Linked DNA regions of Homo sapiens: regions 1, 3 and 4 are each linked to region 2. Evidence: promoter capture Hi-C in 16 types of primary human blood cells and fetal thymus (Javierre and others, 2016). All regions are on one chromosome and are shown on one strand. The core of a region is centred on a gene start or on the middle of the fragment in contact, and the rest is flanking DNA. Distances in the headings are between cores, read along the strand shown.

Region 1 (3,871 bases), core at 125-2,624, 370 kb before region 2:
GGGTGATTCAGAGTTCATGAATATCATTGCCAATGAGATTGGGTCAGAGGTAAGAGGAGCATGAGATTCTCTACCCCGGCCTGGATAGAGACCTAGGGAGACATAAGTGAGGGGCGCTAGTTTAGCCAAAGTCCCTCCACATGAACACATGAGGAGGAGGAAATAGCCATTCATTCAATACTGTTTTCTTAGTACTAGCTATATGCCAAGCTCTGTTTTAGGTGTTGAGCTAGATCTATGTTATTGCTCTCTCTGGGGCTGTGATGTTTATTAGCTTCTGAGCTCCTTTCATCAGAGCTCTAGCTCCTCAAAGCCATTCAGGTTTATGTGTGCTGGGGATCCAATATTAGAAATATATCAGTGGGCTGGTCGCGGTGGCTCACGCATGTAATCCCAGCACTTTGGGAGGCCAAGGTGGGTGGATCACTTAAGATCAGGAGACCAGCCTAGCCAACATGGTGAAACCCCATCTCTACTAAAAATAGAAAAATCAGGCCAGGCATGGTGGCTCACGCCTGTAATTCCAGCACTTTGGGAGGCTGAGGCGGGTGGATTGCCTCAGCTCAGGAGTTCGAGACCACCCTGGGCAACATGGTAAAACCCTATCTCTACTAAAATACAAAAAATTAGCTAGGCGTGGTGGCATGCGCCTGTAATCCCAGCTACTCGGGAGGCTGAGGCATGAGAATCTCTTGAGCCTGGTAGGCAGAGGTTGCAGTGAGCTGAGATTGTGCCACAGCACTCTAGCATGGGCTACAGAGTGAGATTCTGTCTCAAAACAGAAGACAAAAATTTGCTGGGTGTGGTGGCAGGTGCCTGTAGACCCAGCTACTTGGGAGGTTGAGGCAGGAGAATTGCTTGAACCCTGGAGGCTGAGGTTGCAGTGAGCCGAGATTGCGCCACTGCACTCCAGCCTGGGCAACACAGACTGTCTCCAAAAAAAAAAAAAAAAAGTAAATACAGGAGTGGGCAAGCCCCTTTGAAAGCCATCCCCGTCCATTTTCCTCTTCCTCTGGCTTTACTTACTCTTCCCACTCCTGATGGTCTCTAGCCTAGAGATTTCCAGGTCTTTTGTTTGTTTGTTTGTTTGTTTGTTTTTTTCAGAGACAGAGTCTTGCTCTGTCACCCAGGCTGGAGTACAGTGGCGTGATTATGGCTCACTGCAGTCTTGAACTCCTGGGCTCAAGCAGTCCTCCCACGTCAGCCTCCTGAGTAGTTGGGACTGCAAGCATGAGCCACCATGCCCCACTATCTCTTTTGTATTTACTCCAGAACCCTTCTTTGGAATGCCTACTGTGGGTAAAGCGTTGTGTATCTCTCTTTTCATAATTCTTCTGTATAGACAGAACTGATTCTCAAGAAGCTCATATTCTAGTCTGGGAGACAAATATGTATGTCGACATTTATAATTCAGAATGATAGAGTGATGAATGCTAGAGGTGGAGGAGCACATTACCTGAAGGATAGGGAGGTTTCAGGGGAGGGGCCCTTGAAGACTGCTTAGAGGTCATCAGACAGACAAGGGGCAGAGGCGGCCAGGCAGAGGGAAACCTGGTGGTTTAGGCAGTGGCAGGGAAAGGATGTGTGGTGGGGAAAAGTTTGCAAGAGTGAAACCATGAAAGGCATTTTCTGCTTAGCCAGGATCAGCAGTCTTCTGCTGCCTTCTTAATGTTTCACCTAAGTTCCCATAGTTGCTCTCAAAAAGTTTCTTGGCCCTCGTGGGCCAGTGTGGAGGGGCTGTATCATCATTCATCAGGAGCGTCACTTGGTGGTTTAGGGGGAAATAATCTATTCTTAAGATTGAAGAGAGTGCAGGATTTGGGGGGTTGACTCTACATCCTTCAGTATCAGAGCTTATCTCCTTGTCTTACCTCCTAGGAGACCCTCCTGTTCTTAACTGTGGGCGATGAGAAAGGTGGTGGACTCTTCTTACTGGCAGGGCCACCTGCGTCTGTGGAGACCCTGGGGCCCAGGTAATTCTTTGTGGACTCTCTTGCACATGTAGTAGAGCCTGTATCCTACAAATACATTCCTTTACTGAGTCAAAGGACCATCACATCTGCGATCTCATTTAATTCACATCATGGGCATGTGAGGTGGGCTGAGCAGAGATAATTATTACTACTGTCATTTCCAGTTTGACAGTTGAAGGTCTTTTGGCTCCACATCTCACATGTATGTTTTTGTTTTTGTTTTTATGAAATGTGTTTGTTTTTGTTTTTTGAGATGGAGTCTTAGTCTGTTGCCCAGCCTGGAGAGCCCAGGCTACTCAGCTCACTGCAGCCACCACCTCCCAGGTTTAAGCAATTTTCCTGCCTCAGCCACTCAAGTAGCTGGGATTACAGGTGCACATAACCATACCCGTCCAATTTTTTGTATTTTTAGTACAGATAGGGTTTCACCATGTTGGCCAGGCTGGTCTCGAACTCCTGACCTCAAGTGATCCACCTGCCTTGCCCTCCCAAAGTGCTGGGATTACAGGTGCTCACCCTGCTCTCTGGAGATTAACATAATTTATCTAGCCCAATTCATAGACACTGATGTTGTTTCCAGTTATTCACTCTTATGTGATGATGGTACATATATCTTTGTGCATATGTGCAAGTGTTTTTTTGAGACAAAGTTTCACTCTTGTTGCCCAGGCTGGAGTGCAATGGCACCATCTCGGCTCACTGCAACCTCTGCCTCCCGGGTTCAAGCAATTCTCCTGTCTCAGCTTCCTGAGTAGCTGGGATTATGGCGCATACCACCATGCCCGGCTGATTTTTTTATTTTTAGTAGAGACGGGGTTTCATCCTATTGGTCAGGCTGGTCTTGAAGTCCTGACCTCAGGTGATCCACCCACTTTGGCCTCCCAAAGTGCTGGGATTACAGGTGTGAGCCACCATGCCCAGCCTATGTGCAAGTGTTTTCAAGAAAGATTCCTAGAAGTCATCTACTCTTCTTATCCCTCTCCCAGTCCCTGGAAAAAGACTCAGAGCTGCCCTTGTTTTTTTTTGTGACTTTTCCCTCAAAGTCTCCCTGACTATACCTCTGTTCCCCAGGGTGGCTGAGGTCCTGGAAGGCAAAGGAGCAGGGAAGAAAGGCCGTTTTCAGGGCAAGGCCACCAAGATGAGCCGGCGGATGGAGGCGCAGGCGCTTCTCCAGGACTACATCAGCACGCAGAGTGCTAAGGAGTGAGGGCTTAGGGCACTCACCTCCTGTTTCCACAGGAATCTTTTGGTCAATAAAATAGATTGACTCAGAATGGTTGCGCTACCACTTGTATTTATATGACTAATTCGTACTGTATACTCCATTGTGCTTGTGTGGTTACTTTCCGTTTATAAATAGATAATTTTCTAATTTAGTTCATGCACTGTAATGTTTAGAAGGTGGTGGATTAATTTATACCAAACCTTGTGCTTTTGCACTCAGTTGGATAAGAAATGAACATCTGATCAGCTGAGTCCACTGCTCCCATAATTTTGTTATAATCCACAAAGGCACATGGCTTTTTCCCGCCCCTACCGCCCCACCCCCTGAGATGGACTCTTGCTTTGTTGCCCAGGCTGGATATAGTGGTGTGATCTCAGCTCACTGCAACCTCTGCCTCCCGGGTTGAAGGGATTTTCCTGCCTCAGCCTCCAGAGTAGCCAGGATTACAGGTGTGTGCCACCATGCCTGGCTGATTTTTTTGTTTTTGTTTTTTGTTTTTGTTTGAGATGGAGTCTCGCTCTGTCACCAGGCTGGAGTGCGGTGGTGCGATCTTGGCTCACTGCAACCTCTACCTCCCAGGTTCAAACTAATCTCCTGCCTCAGCCTCCCGAGTAGCTGGAACTACAGGCTCGCACCACCATGCCAGCTAATTTTTGTATTTTTAGTAGAGATG
Region 2 (3,633 bases), core at 443-2,942:
GAGGAAGCCCAGGTATGAGGGACCCACCAGCCCACCCCTATTTTTACTTCGTGATGGCCAGAACATCACCATAGTATGAGGCTACTTTCCTTCTTGTGAGAGCCCCACCATCAGTATAACTGGCACTCTTGGCTAGTATTTAGCCTGTATTTCCTTCATTTCTAATTTCTTTTTTTTTCCTGAGACGGAGTCTTGGTCTGTCGCCCAGGCTGGAGTGCAGTGGTGCGATCTCTCACTGCAAGCTCCGCCTCCCGGGTTCACGCCATTCTCCTGCCTCAGCCTCCTGAGTAGCTTGGACTACAGGCGCCCACCAGCACGCCTGGCTAATTTTTTGTATTTTTAGTAGAGATGGGGTTTCACAGTGTTAGCCAGGATGGTCTCGATCTCCTGACCTCGTGATCCGCCCGCCCTGGCCTCCCAAAGTGCTGGGATTGCAGGCGTGAGCCACCGCGCTCGGCCCTTTCATTTCTAATTCTTAATATTGTCTCCTAAACGTGCAGAGACAAGCACACGTTTTAAAGGCTAAGGAGGTTGTAGGTAGCAGAAGGCTTTAAAAAGTAGCACCTTACTCCTTCACTGGATGGTCTGAGCTGCAGGGACAGCTGCTCTTTGGCCTTCAGCTCACCTCAGAAACTAGAAATATTTATTTCAGGCTCTGTCCCATTGGCCACTGTGGTCAGGGGTGGAAAGCACCTGCCAGGTGTTGCCCTGAGATTGTCTGGGCTAACAAACTTTTCCACAAGCTTTGTGGTTGAACAGTAGCCCCCTCCTAACCCTATCGTTCCTTGGCGTCCAAACTACAGTAGGTGTCGAGTGCCCCCTGGGTGCGAAGCTCGGTATTAGGCAAATAAGGGTGGTTGCTCTCCAAGGCGCTTAGCTGTCCCCCCTTCCCACTTTTTTTTTTTTTGTTCGAGACTGCGTCTCGCTCTGTCGCCAGGATGGGGTGCAGTGGCGCGCTCATAGTGGCTCACTGCAGCCTCGATGTCCGGGGCTCTGGTGACCCTCCCACCTCAGCCTCCAGAGTAGCTGGGACCACAGAAGCGCGCCACCACTCTTAATTTTTTGTACTTTATTTGCAGAGATGGGGTTTCATATTGCCCAGACTGGTTTCGAATTCCTGGGCTCAAACGATCCGCCCGCCTCAGCCTCCCAAAGTGATAGAATTGCAGGGGTGACATGCCACTGCGCCCGACCAAGGCGCTTAGCTTTCTATTAAGTTTTCACAACCACTTTCCTACCACTATCTACTGTTCCTATTTTACAAATGACAAAACTAACCGACAAAAGAGCACTGGACCGTGGGACCAGAGCACGTCCCTGTGGGGTAACCTTGAGCTGGTCGCTTGCCCAGGGCGGCAGCGGATGTCTGAAGCGTCTTCCAATCCCAACATTAGACTTAATTCAAGGTCACCAGTGCTCAGCTGCGGCTGGAACTGGGTCTCGAAACTTGAAGGCCTTCTCTGCTACAGCCTTCGTTCCCGGGAGCAGAAAGAGGAAGTTTCTTAGCCGTGGGCACGCCGGCGCCTTCGCAGAGGCCCATGGCTTGAGGTCCGGCCCGAATGCGCAAGTTCCGACCTGAAATGAACTATGGAGTCCGGGAGGGGTCGCTTTGCTCCTCCGGAAGGCTTCCCCTTCAGCCAATCACCGTTCGAGGCCCGCCCCCGTCGCCGGAAGGAGCCGTCGCCCCGAGCAACTACAACGTCCGGCTTTCTGAGTTGGGTGGCGGGAAAGGCGATGAGTAAAGGCCGGGCAGAAGCTGCGGCGGGAGGTAACGGCGCCGTGGGCGCGGGGAAGACCCGGGAGGGCAGTGGGTGAGGAGGTCGGTTGAGTGGCCCCCTCCCCTGCCTTTCTCTCCGTAGCCGCCGGGATCCTCCTGAGGTACCTGCAGGAGCAGAACCGGCCCTACAGCTCCCAGGATGTGTTCGGGAACCTACAGCGGGAACACGGACTGGGCAAGGCGGTGAGGACCTTCTCCCGGGATTCCCTCTCCGTCGGACTCCCTGGATTCAGGCTGGGGTCGTGCCCTTTGGAGCCTTGGGCGTTTTCCACATCACTGGCTGGATTTCCCCAGACCCAGGCTCAGACTCCTCTGATTGCTCCTTCTCTCTCCTCTGCCAGGTGGTGGTGAAGACGCTGGAGCAGCTGGCGCAACAAGGCAAGATCAAAGAGAAGATGTACGGCAAGCAGAAGATCTATTTTGCGGATCAGGTGAGGAGAACTTGCGCCGATTGTCACCCATGAGAGCCCGACAACGGGTGAATCTACTCCTGGTGTGAACTCTTTGGGGACAAGGCCCCCCATGGAAAACTCACCTGTCTTAGGCCACCATCCTTAAATCAAGGTGTGTACTCCTCTTGTTAGGATCCCAACTTCACGAGGTTTCCAGATTTACAATATGATGGATGACAGAAGATTCTGTATTGTTGCTACCAAGATCCATTTCCGCTCCAAAGCTCTTATTCCTTATCATCTACATTAGCAACACCCTCTGCCAAATGATGTTCCTCCTGCCTCCATCCGATTCTCTAAACACACATATCAAATTTATATTCTCCAGCCCAGACCTCCAGCTGGAATCTGTCAGGCATTAATATCAGAGTCAAAATTGCCACAGTAGAATGCCTCATCTTCCCCCCACCCCGGACTGGTTTCTTTCTAACATTCTCCTCCCCTAATGGAATTACTCTTCACCCAAACCAGAAATTGGGAGCAATTCTTGACTTCCTTTACTAGTCAACCATCAAGTCCAGCTGATTTTTCCGTTTTTATTTATTTTTTTAATTTTTATAGAGATGGGTCTTACTGTGCTGCCCAGGTTGGTCCCAACTCCTGGGCTCAAGTGATCCTCCTGTCTTGGCCTCCCAAAGTGCTGGGAGGACAGGCGTGAACCACAGAGCCTGGCTAATTTTTCCATTCTTGAATCCACTCTCCTTTCCATCTGCCATGGTTGCTCTAGTTCACGCCCTCTTTATTTGTTGCAGTATCCTCCTAACAGATCTTGGCTCTTCAAACATATCTTAAACTCTTAAACATTGCAGTCAGAATGATCTGTCTAAATAGATCTGGTCATGCACCTTCCCTATTTAAAACTCTTCAATGGCTCTCTAGTGCTGCAAAAAACATGTAAAAGGCACCGGAAGACGCCCCAGCCAGCCTCTGGCCTCACCAATCCTCATTATTTTTCTATCCACGAACACTAGATAATTCTGGTGTGTTTTACTGCTCTGTCCTTTGCATGTTGTCTTCCCTGTACCTGCTTCTCTTCCTGGCCAGCTCTTTCTTTCCTTGAGGATTTCACTTAGACATCACCTTTTCCAGAAATCTTCCTTGAATGCTCCGAGCTAATTGTTTCTTTTTCAGGCCCTTATCTCTTTTTGTTATTGTTGTTGTTGTTGTTGTTGAGACGGAGTCTCGCTCTGTCACCCAGGCTGGAGTGCAGTGGCACAATCTCGGCTCACTATAAGCTCCACCTCCTGGGTTCACGCCATTCCCCCGCCTCAGCCTCCCAGAGTAGCTGGGACTACAGGCACCCGCCACGAAGCCTAATTTTTTTTTTTTTTTTTTTTTGGTATTTTTAGTAGAGATGGGGTTTCATCGTGTTAGCCAGGATGGTCTTGATCTCCTGACCTCGTG
Region 3 (3,371 bases), core at 285-2,784, 350 kb before region 2:
TCAGTAAAACAACAACAAAGTTCCCTGAGACTCTCTCAGTTATGATTTTACTCCCGAAGCAGTCACTGTCTTGGAAGGATGACTGGCTCTCAGGAGGCTGCCTCAAACGATGCATGTGAAATTCATGTAGGCTTCCAGTGTGTGTGTATGTGTGTTTTGGGGTTGTGTTTCCTGCTGTTTATAACAGGAGGATAGTCTGGTCAACCAGAACAAGGAGACCAAGCCAACAGACATCACCATCAGCAAAGGGACGGTATAATGGCGGTTGGCAAGGCAAATGAGGGCTAGTAAAGGAAATGCAATTATAGTGAGGGTGAAGATTAAATCTCTATGCAGGAATATTGCAGATAAAATAAATGAAAACAATTATATCTTTTTTTTCTTTTATAGAGAGGGGGTTGCGGTATGTTACCCAGGCTGGTCCTGAACTCTGGGTCTCAAGCAATTCTCCCGTCTTGCCTTCTAGTGTTGGGATTGCAGGCATGAGCCACCGGGCCTGGCCTGAAAATATTTTATATTGAATAAAAAATTACAACATAGAGTTCAATTGGAAACATTATTGTGAACCCATAAGCTTTAAGAGAAATATAATTTCCTGGCTCTGACCCTAAAATACAGTTCATTAACAGCATTTCTTTTTCTTTTTCTTTTTTCTTTTTTTGAAATGGAGTCTCGCTCTGTTGCCAGGCTGGACTGTAGTGGCTCAATCTTGGCTCACTGAACCTCTGCCTCCCAGGTTCAAGTGATTCTCCTCCCTCAGCCTCCTGAGTAGCTGGGATTATAGGCATCTGCCTAATTTTTGTATTTTTAGTAGAGATGGGGTTTCACCATAATGGCCAAGCTGGTCTTGAGCTCCTGACCTCATGATCCACCTGCCTCAGCCTCCCAAAGTACTGGGATTACAGGCGTGAGCCACCATGCCCTGGCCACAGCATTTCTTTTCCTTCTTCTTTTTTTTTTTTTCCTTTTTGAGATGAAGTCTCTCTCTGTTGCCCAGGCTGGAGTGCAGTGGCATGATCTCAGCTCACTGCAACCTCCGCCTCCTGGGTTCAAGCAATTCTCCTGGCTCAGCCTCCTGAGTAGCTGGGATTACAGGCACACACCACCACGCCCAGCTAATTTTTTGTATTTTTAGTAGATATGGGGTTTCCCCATGTTGGCCAGGCTGGTCTCGAACTCCTGACCTCAGGTGATCCTCCTGCCTCAGCCTTCCAAAGTGTTGGGATTACAGGCTAGGCCACTGCACCTAGCCCATTAACAGCATTTCTTCTGCTAACCTCCCACTCTCGTGCACCCATCAAAAGGAAATGAGACTTCTTAGTGGGTGGCTGATTCTGTGTCTTGGAACAAGGAAAATTTGGAATGGGCCTAGAACACAAGGATTTTAGGCCAGCAATGGTAGAAGGATAAGGAAGCCACTGTCCAAATTGCAACAATTTGACATCAAAAAAGGAACATAGTAATTATGTTTATTTATAATTGACAATTATGATTAAAATAAGTTCAGTGTGTGAAAGACCTCAAAATAAAAAAAAGTTGATATATGATTTTCTGATATATGACATATGATTTTTCTCTGCTTTTATGATATTTGAAGCATCATAAAGGGGACGCGGAGCTGGAGTGTCACAGGGGCTGAGGCAATGTAATTGGTTAAGCCACCAGTAGGGTGTGTGATCACCAACAAAAAGAAAAAGTCCTACACTGAAAGCCCATGGGGTTGAAGCAGGATTTGGTTCACGCTAGAACTTCTGAGAGTCAGTGTGTATCTTGATAAACAGCAACAGAGCTTAGTCATGAGTTCCCTGTAACTGGCTGCTCAGAGAGTTTGCTCCCCACCTCCTGGGGAGAACTTACCTGGGAAGAGGCCAATGTTTCTATCTAAGCCTGTCCCGTCCTCTGAGTTTCCAACCTTCTAATTTCACGTTGGGAGTGCCTCCGAACATGTTTTTGCTGAGTCATTTGTGGAGCTCTAGAATTGTTGAACCTATCATTTGTTTTCCAAGTTAGGGGCAAACAGTAATATATTGCTCATTTATTATTCAACCAAGATATCTGGAGTCCTCCTCATGTGTTAGGCCAGGGCTAGGCACAGGGTTTAAGTGCAAGAGTGAGCAAAGCAGGCATGGAGCTGCACTCATGGGGCCTAGTCTAGTGGGGAAGACGGACATGATCCAAATAATCACAAAGTGACGTTTGGTAGAGAGCAAAGTAAAAGGGGTGCTTTGGCAGGCCCAGAAGAGGAACTTGATCATGACTCATGGTGGGTGGGCAGGGAGGCTTCCTTGAGAAAGTGATACCAATGTGGAGGACTGAATTATGTGAAGAGGCAGAAGAGTGTTCTAAGAAGGGGGGTGTGTAAAAGCCCAAGCTCGGAGGAGGGCTGGAGTGTGTTGCATTGGAGGAACCAAGATGACATTGGCTGTGCTTTGTGGAATGAGGTGAAGGAGACCAGGTGAGGTGCGGTAGACAAGGTCCAGCTGAGGTAAGCTTTCAGAGGCCATATAAAGATTTTTTTTTTTTTGGTAAGAGCATTATTGAGATATAATTCACACACCACAAAATTCACACATTTAAAATGCACAATTTGGTAGCCAGTTGAGGTAGCTCATGCCTGTAATCCCAGCACTTTGGGAAGCAGAGACAGGTGGATCACTTGAGGCCAGGAGTTCAAGACCAGCCTGGCCAACATACTGAAACCCCGTCTCTACTAAAAATACAATTAGTTGGGTATGGTGGCACATGCCTGTAATCCCAGCTACTTGGGAGGCTGAGGCAGGAGAATCACTTGAATCCAGGAGGTGGAGGTTGCAGTGAGCTGAGATTGCGCCACTGCACTCCAGTCTGGGGCAACAGAGAGAGACTCCATCTCAAAAAGAAAAAAAAAAGAAAAGAAAAGAAAAGAAATGCTGTGGCTGGGGTGCGGTGGCTCACACCTGTAATCCCAGCACTTTGGGAGGCCAAGGTGGGTGGATCACTTGAAGTCAGGAGTTTGAGACCAGCCTGGCCAACATTGTGAAACGCCATCTCTACTAAAAATATAAAAATTAGCCTGGTGTGGTGGTGGGTGCCTGTAATCCCAGCTACTCGGGAGGCTGAGGCAGGAGAATTGATTGAACCTGGGAGGCGGAAGTTGCAGTGACCTGAGATCACACCATTGCACTCCAGCCTGGGGGATGAGAGCAAAACTCTGTCTCAAAAAAATAAAATAAAATAAATAAATAATGTACAATTCAGCCGGGCATGGTGGCTCATGCCTATAATCCCAGCACTTTGGGAAGCCAAGGTGGGAGGATTGCTTGAGGCCAGGAGTTTGAGATCAGCCTGAGCAACACAGTGCAACTTCATCTCTATGAAAAATTAAAAAGTTA
Region 4 (3,572 bases), core at 779-3,278, 280 kb before region 2:
TTCAAGATCAGCCTGGGCACCATAGCAAGACCCACATCTCTACAAAAAAGTTTAAAAAAAAAAAAAAAAAAAAGAATTAGCTGCTGTAAGGCATGATCATGCCATCACATTTCAGCCTGGGCAACAGAGGAGGATGCTATCTCAGAAAAAGAAACAAAAAGAAAAGTGACATTTAATACTTACGCCCGAATGTTGGAGAGTAAAACTCACACCCAATATTCCCATCAATGAGCAGTAACATGGAGATGAAGAACTAGAAAGCTTCTTGAAGTCAAGACAGACAATGGAATTACTGTAACTAAGGCAGGAAAGGGTCATTGGAAACAGGTTGTGAATCAGAAATTTAAAGAAAATAAATACTGTATGTATTCACTCCAAGAAAAGTAAAGGTTAAATGAAAAACAGAAGTTTTCTTCTACTGTAGGCAAGGCTATAGACAGGTCATGGTGACCTAGCCTGCAGAAATAGGCTCCAGACACCCCCGAGCAAAGTTAAAAGAAGAACAAATTCCTTTGCTGTCTCCCCTTTAAATAATTAATTATGACTATGTTTGCCAACACTTGTATTCAGTAAAATTTATAAGTTTCTGTTTTACAAGTTATGCCAAGTCAACAGTTATGCTATAGATTATGTGACTTGTCACTACATAGTTTACTGCCTTTGTCCTGTTTCTGTGTACTAGCCTGTATAAGCTAAACTCTGTCTTTGTTCAGTGCTCAGCTTTTTAGCTGTGAGTCCACTGAGCTGGTACACACCTAATAAATATCCTCCTGTATTCACCCATACTAGTCTCTCTAGTCCTCTGTGTCCTGCAACAGTTGTGTGACCTTTAGGATAAAGGAAATAAAATCTAATGTCAAGGCCTAGCCACAAGGCAATCCATCCCAGCCAGGGAACTTGTGTCTGGTCCTTTGGTAGGTTATGGTCAATAGCGGGGAAGTTACCTCCAGCTCTTGGCTAAGAACATGCCATTAAGACAACTAATGTTGGGGCTGGGCACAGTGGCTCACGCCTGTAATCCCAGCACTTTGGGAGGCCAAGATGGGCAGATCACTTGAGGTCAAAGGTTCAAGAACAGACTGACCAACATGGTGAAACCCCATCTCTACGAAAAATACAAAAATTAACTGGGCATGGTGGTGGGCACCTGTAATCCCAGCTACTCAGGAGGCTGAGGCAGGAGAATTGCTTCAACCTGGGAGGCAGAAGTTGCAGTGAGCTGAGATCACACCACGGCACTCCAGCCTGGGTGACAGAGCGAGACTCTGTCTCAAAAGAAAAAAAAAGACAACTAATGTTGACCAGGTGCAGCAGCTCACACCTGTAATCCCTTCATTTTGGGATGCCAAGAGTCGAGAATCACATGAGCCTAGGAGTTCAAGACCAGCTTGGACAATATAGAGATCTCTACAAAAAATTAAAAAAAAATTAGCCAGGCACATCCTAGCTACTTGGGAGGGTGAGGCGGGAGGATTGCTTGAGCCCAGGAGTTCAAGGCTGCAATAAACTATGATTGTGCCACTGCACTTCAGCCTAGGTGACAGAGCAAGACCTTGTCACTAAAAAAAGAAAAAACAGAGAAAAGATTTATTTTGGTTGAGTGTGGTGCCTCATGCCTGTAATTCCAGCACTTTGTGAGGAAGAGACAGGAGAATGGCTTGAGCCCAGGAGTCCAAGACCACTCTGGGCAACATAGCAAGGCCTCATCTCTACAATAACTTAAAAAATACATATATATATAGGCTGGCGTGGTGGCTCATACCTGTAATCCTAGCACTTTGAGAGGCCAAGATGGGCAGATTCCTTGAGCTCAGGAGTTCAAGACCAGCCTGGGCAACATGGCAAAACCCTATCTACCAAAAATATAAAAAATTAGCCAGGTATAGTGGTGCATGCCTGTGGTCCCAGCTTCTTGGGAGGCTGAAGTGGGAGGATCACTTGAGCCCACAGGGTGGAGTTTGCAGTGAGCCAAGATTGCACCCCTACACTGAAGCCTGGGCAATACAGTGAGAACCTCTCTCAAAAACAAAACAAAACACCAAAAACATACGTGTAGAAAGAGATTTGGCCAATGACAAATATTGACAGTTAAAGTAAGAAAGGCTGGCTGGGCGTGGTGGCTTACACCTGTAATCCCAGCACTTTGGGAGGCTGAGGTGGGAGGATCACTTGAGCCCAGGAGTTTGAGACCAGGCAACAGAGCGAGACATGGTCTCTACAAAAAAAATTTTTTTTTGAGACAAAGTTTCACTCTTGTTGCCTAGGCTGGAGTGCAGTGATGTGATCTCGGCTCACTGCAACCTCCACCTCCCAGGTTCAAGCGATTCTCCTGCCTCAGCCTCCGGAGTAGCTGGGATTACAGGCACCCGCCACCATGCCCAGCTAATTTTTTGTATTTTTAGTAGAGATGGGGTTTCATCACGTTGGCCAGGCTGGTCTTGAACTCCTGACCTCAGGTGATCCACCTGCCTCGGCCTCCCAAAGTGCTCCAATTACAGGCATGAGCCACCGCGCCTGGCCTACAAAAAATTTTTTTTAATTAGCCAGGCATGGTGGCACACGCCTGTAATTCCAGCTGCTCGGGAGGCTGAGGTGGGAGGATCGCTTCAGTCTGGGAGGTTGAGGCTGCAGTGAGCCATGGTGGTACCACTGCACTCCAGCCTGGGTGACAGAGCAAGACCTTTTCTTAAGGGGGGAAAAAAAGAAAAAGAAAGAAGAAAAGAAAAAAAGAAAGAAAGAAAGGCTGAGATCACCCACAGAGGACTTCTGGAGAGAGGAGAAAGGAGGACCAAGGACAGAACCCTAGAAAAGGCAAGAGCTTGGGGCTCCATGAGTAGGTAGGGGGAGCAGAAGTCAAGGAGCCTGAGAAGACTGAGAAGGAGCAAATATGGATGAAAAGGGGACAATGTGGGAGAGTCAAGATGGGAGAGGGTTCCAAGAGGGAGGACAGTTGGTGTTGTCAAACGCCACCGAGAGGTCCAGAAAGTAGGCGGCCAGGAGCTCCTGTTGATTTTGTGTTTAAGAAGTCACTGGGGGCCGGGTGCTGTGGCTCACACCTGTAATCCCAGCACTTTGAGAGGCCAAGGCAGGCGGATCACTTGAGGTCAGGAGTTCGAGACCAACCTGGCCAACATGGTGAAACCCCGTCTCTACTAAAACTACAAAATTAGCCGGGCGTAGTGGCAGGTGCCTGTAATACCAGCTACTCAGGAGTCTAAGGCAGGAGAATCACTTGAACCCGGGAAGTGGAGGTTGCAGTGAGCCAAGATCATGCCATTGCACGCCAGCCTGGGCGACAAGAGTGAAATTCCATCTCAAAATAAAAAAAATAAAAGAGGTGAGGCGAGTGGGCACACCTCATGTCCTCACAGGGGGTTGCCATGTTCACATTCCTGGAGAAGTCCTAGTCATGCCCTCTGACCCAAGCCTCAGGGATTCCCTTGTCCAACTCCTTTATCTCAGGCCACTGGGCCCCAAGTCCTGAAGATCTGAGCCTTGGCAGCACCAGTTCCTTCAGAACCTGACATCCTCAGCCAGTAATCACTCCTAGACAATTGACCACAAGTCTGAAG

The links. Contacts are between HindIII fragments. The CHiCAGO score rates a contact against its expected background, and 5 or more counts as called.
Region 1: a contact is called between a fragment that was not itself captured here and the fragment with the promoter of PSMC3IP in region 2, in 2 of 17 cell types (endothelial precursors and megakaryocytes). The highest score is 6.1, in endothelial precursors.
Region 3: a fragment that was not itself captured here is called in contact with the fragment with the promoter of PSMC3IP in region 2 in 5 of 17 cell types (megakaryocytes, erythroblasts, endothelial precursors and 2 more); the score reaches 12.4 in megakaryocytes.
Region 4: a contact is called between a fragment that was not itself captured here and the fragment with the promoter of PSMC3IP in region 2, in 1 of 17 cell types (megakaryocytes). The highest score is 5.3, in megakaryocytes.

Annotation. Positions count from the first base shown.
Region 1 is chr17:42,949,902-42,953,772 of GRCh38, reverse strand. It overlaps PTGES3L-AARSD1 (PTGES3L-AARSD1 readthrough), which reads left to right. Exons shown (of 17, transcript NM_001136042.2): 15 at 1-49; 16 at 1,879-1,973; 17 at 3,045-3,247. The coding sequence ends at 3,180. AARSD1 (alanyl-tRNA synthetase domain containing 1) reads left to right here. Exons shown (of 12, transcript NM_001261434.2): 10 at 1-49; 11 at 1,879-1,973; 12 at 3,045-3,247. The coding sequence ends at 3,180. Among named protein-coding and RNA genes, the nearest start is that of AARSD1, 13 kb to the left of the region's middle. The HindIII fragment of the contact is 8,438 bases long and covers 1-3,871 here.
Region 2 is chr17:42,575,788-42,579,420 of GRCh38, reverse strand. It overlaps PSMC3IP (PSMC3 interacting protein), which reads left to right and starts at 1,692. Exons shown (of 8, transcript NM_016556.4): 1 at 1,692-1,768; 2 at 1,860-1,960; 3 at 2,119-2,208. The coding sequence starts at 1,735. RefSeq lists an enhancer at 1,341-1,430 and a silencer at 1,731-1,780. The HindIII fragment of the contact is 6,888 bases long and covers 746-3,633 here.
Region 3 is chr17:42,927,731-42,931,101 of GRCh38, reverse strand. No RefSeq gene overlaps it. Among named protein-coding and RNA genes, the nearest start is that of G6PC1, 29 kb to the right of the region's middle. RefSeq lists enhancers at 2,038-2,187, 2,077-2,653. The HindIII fragment of the contact is 1,916 bases long and covers 577-2,492 here.
Region 4 is chr17:42,859,613-42,863,184 of GRCh38, reverse strand. No RefSeq gene overlaps it. Among named protein-coding and RNA genes, the nearest start is that of AOC3, 10 kb to the right of the region's middle. The HindIII fragment of the contact is 3,530 bases long and covers 264-3,572 here.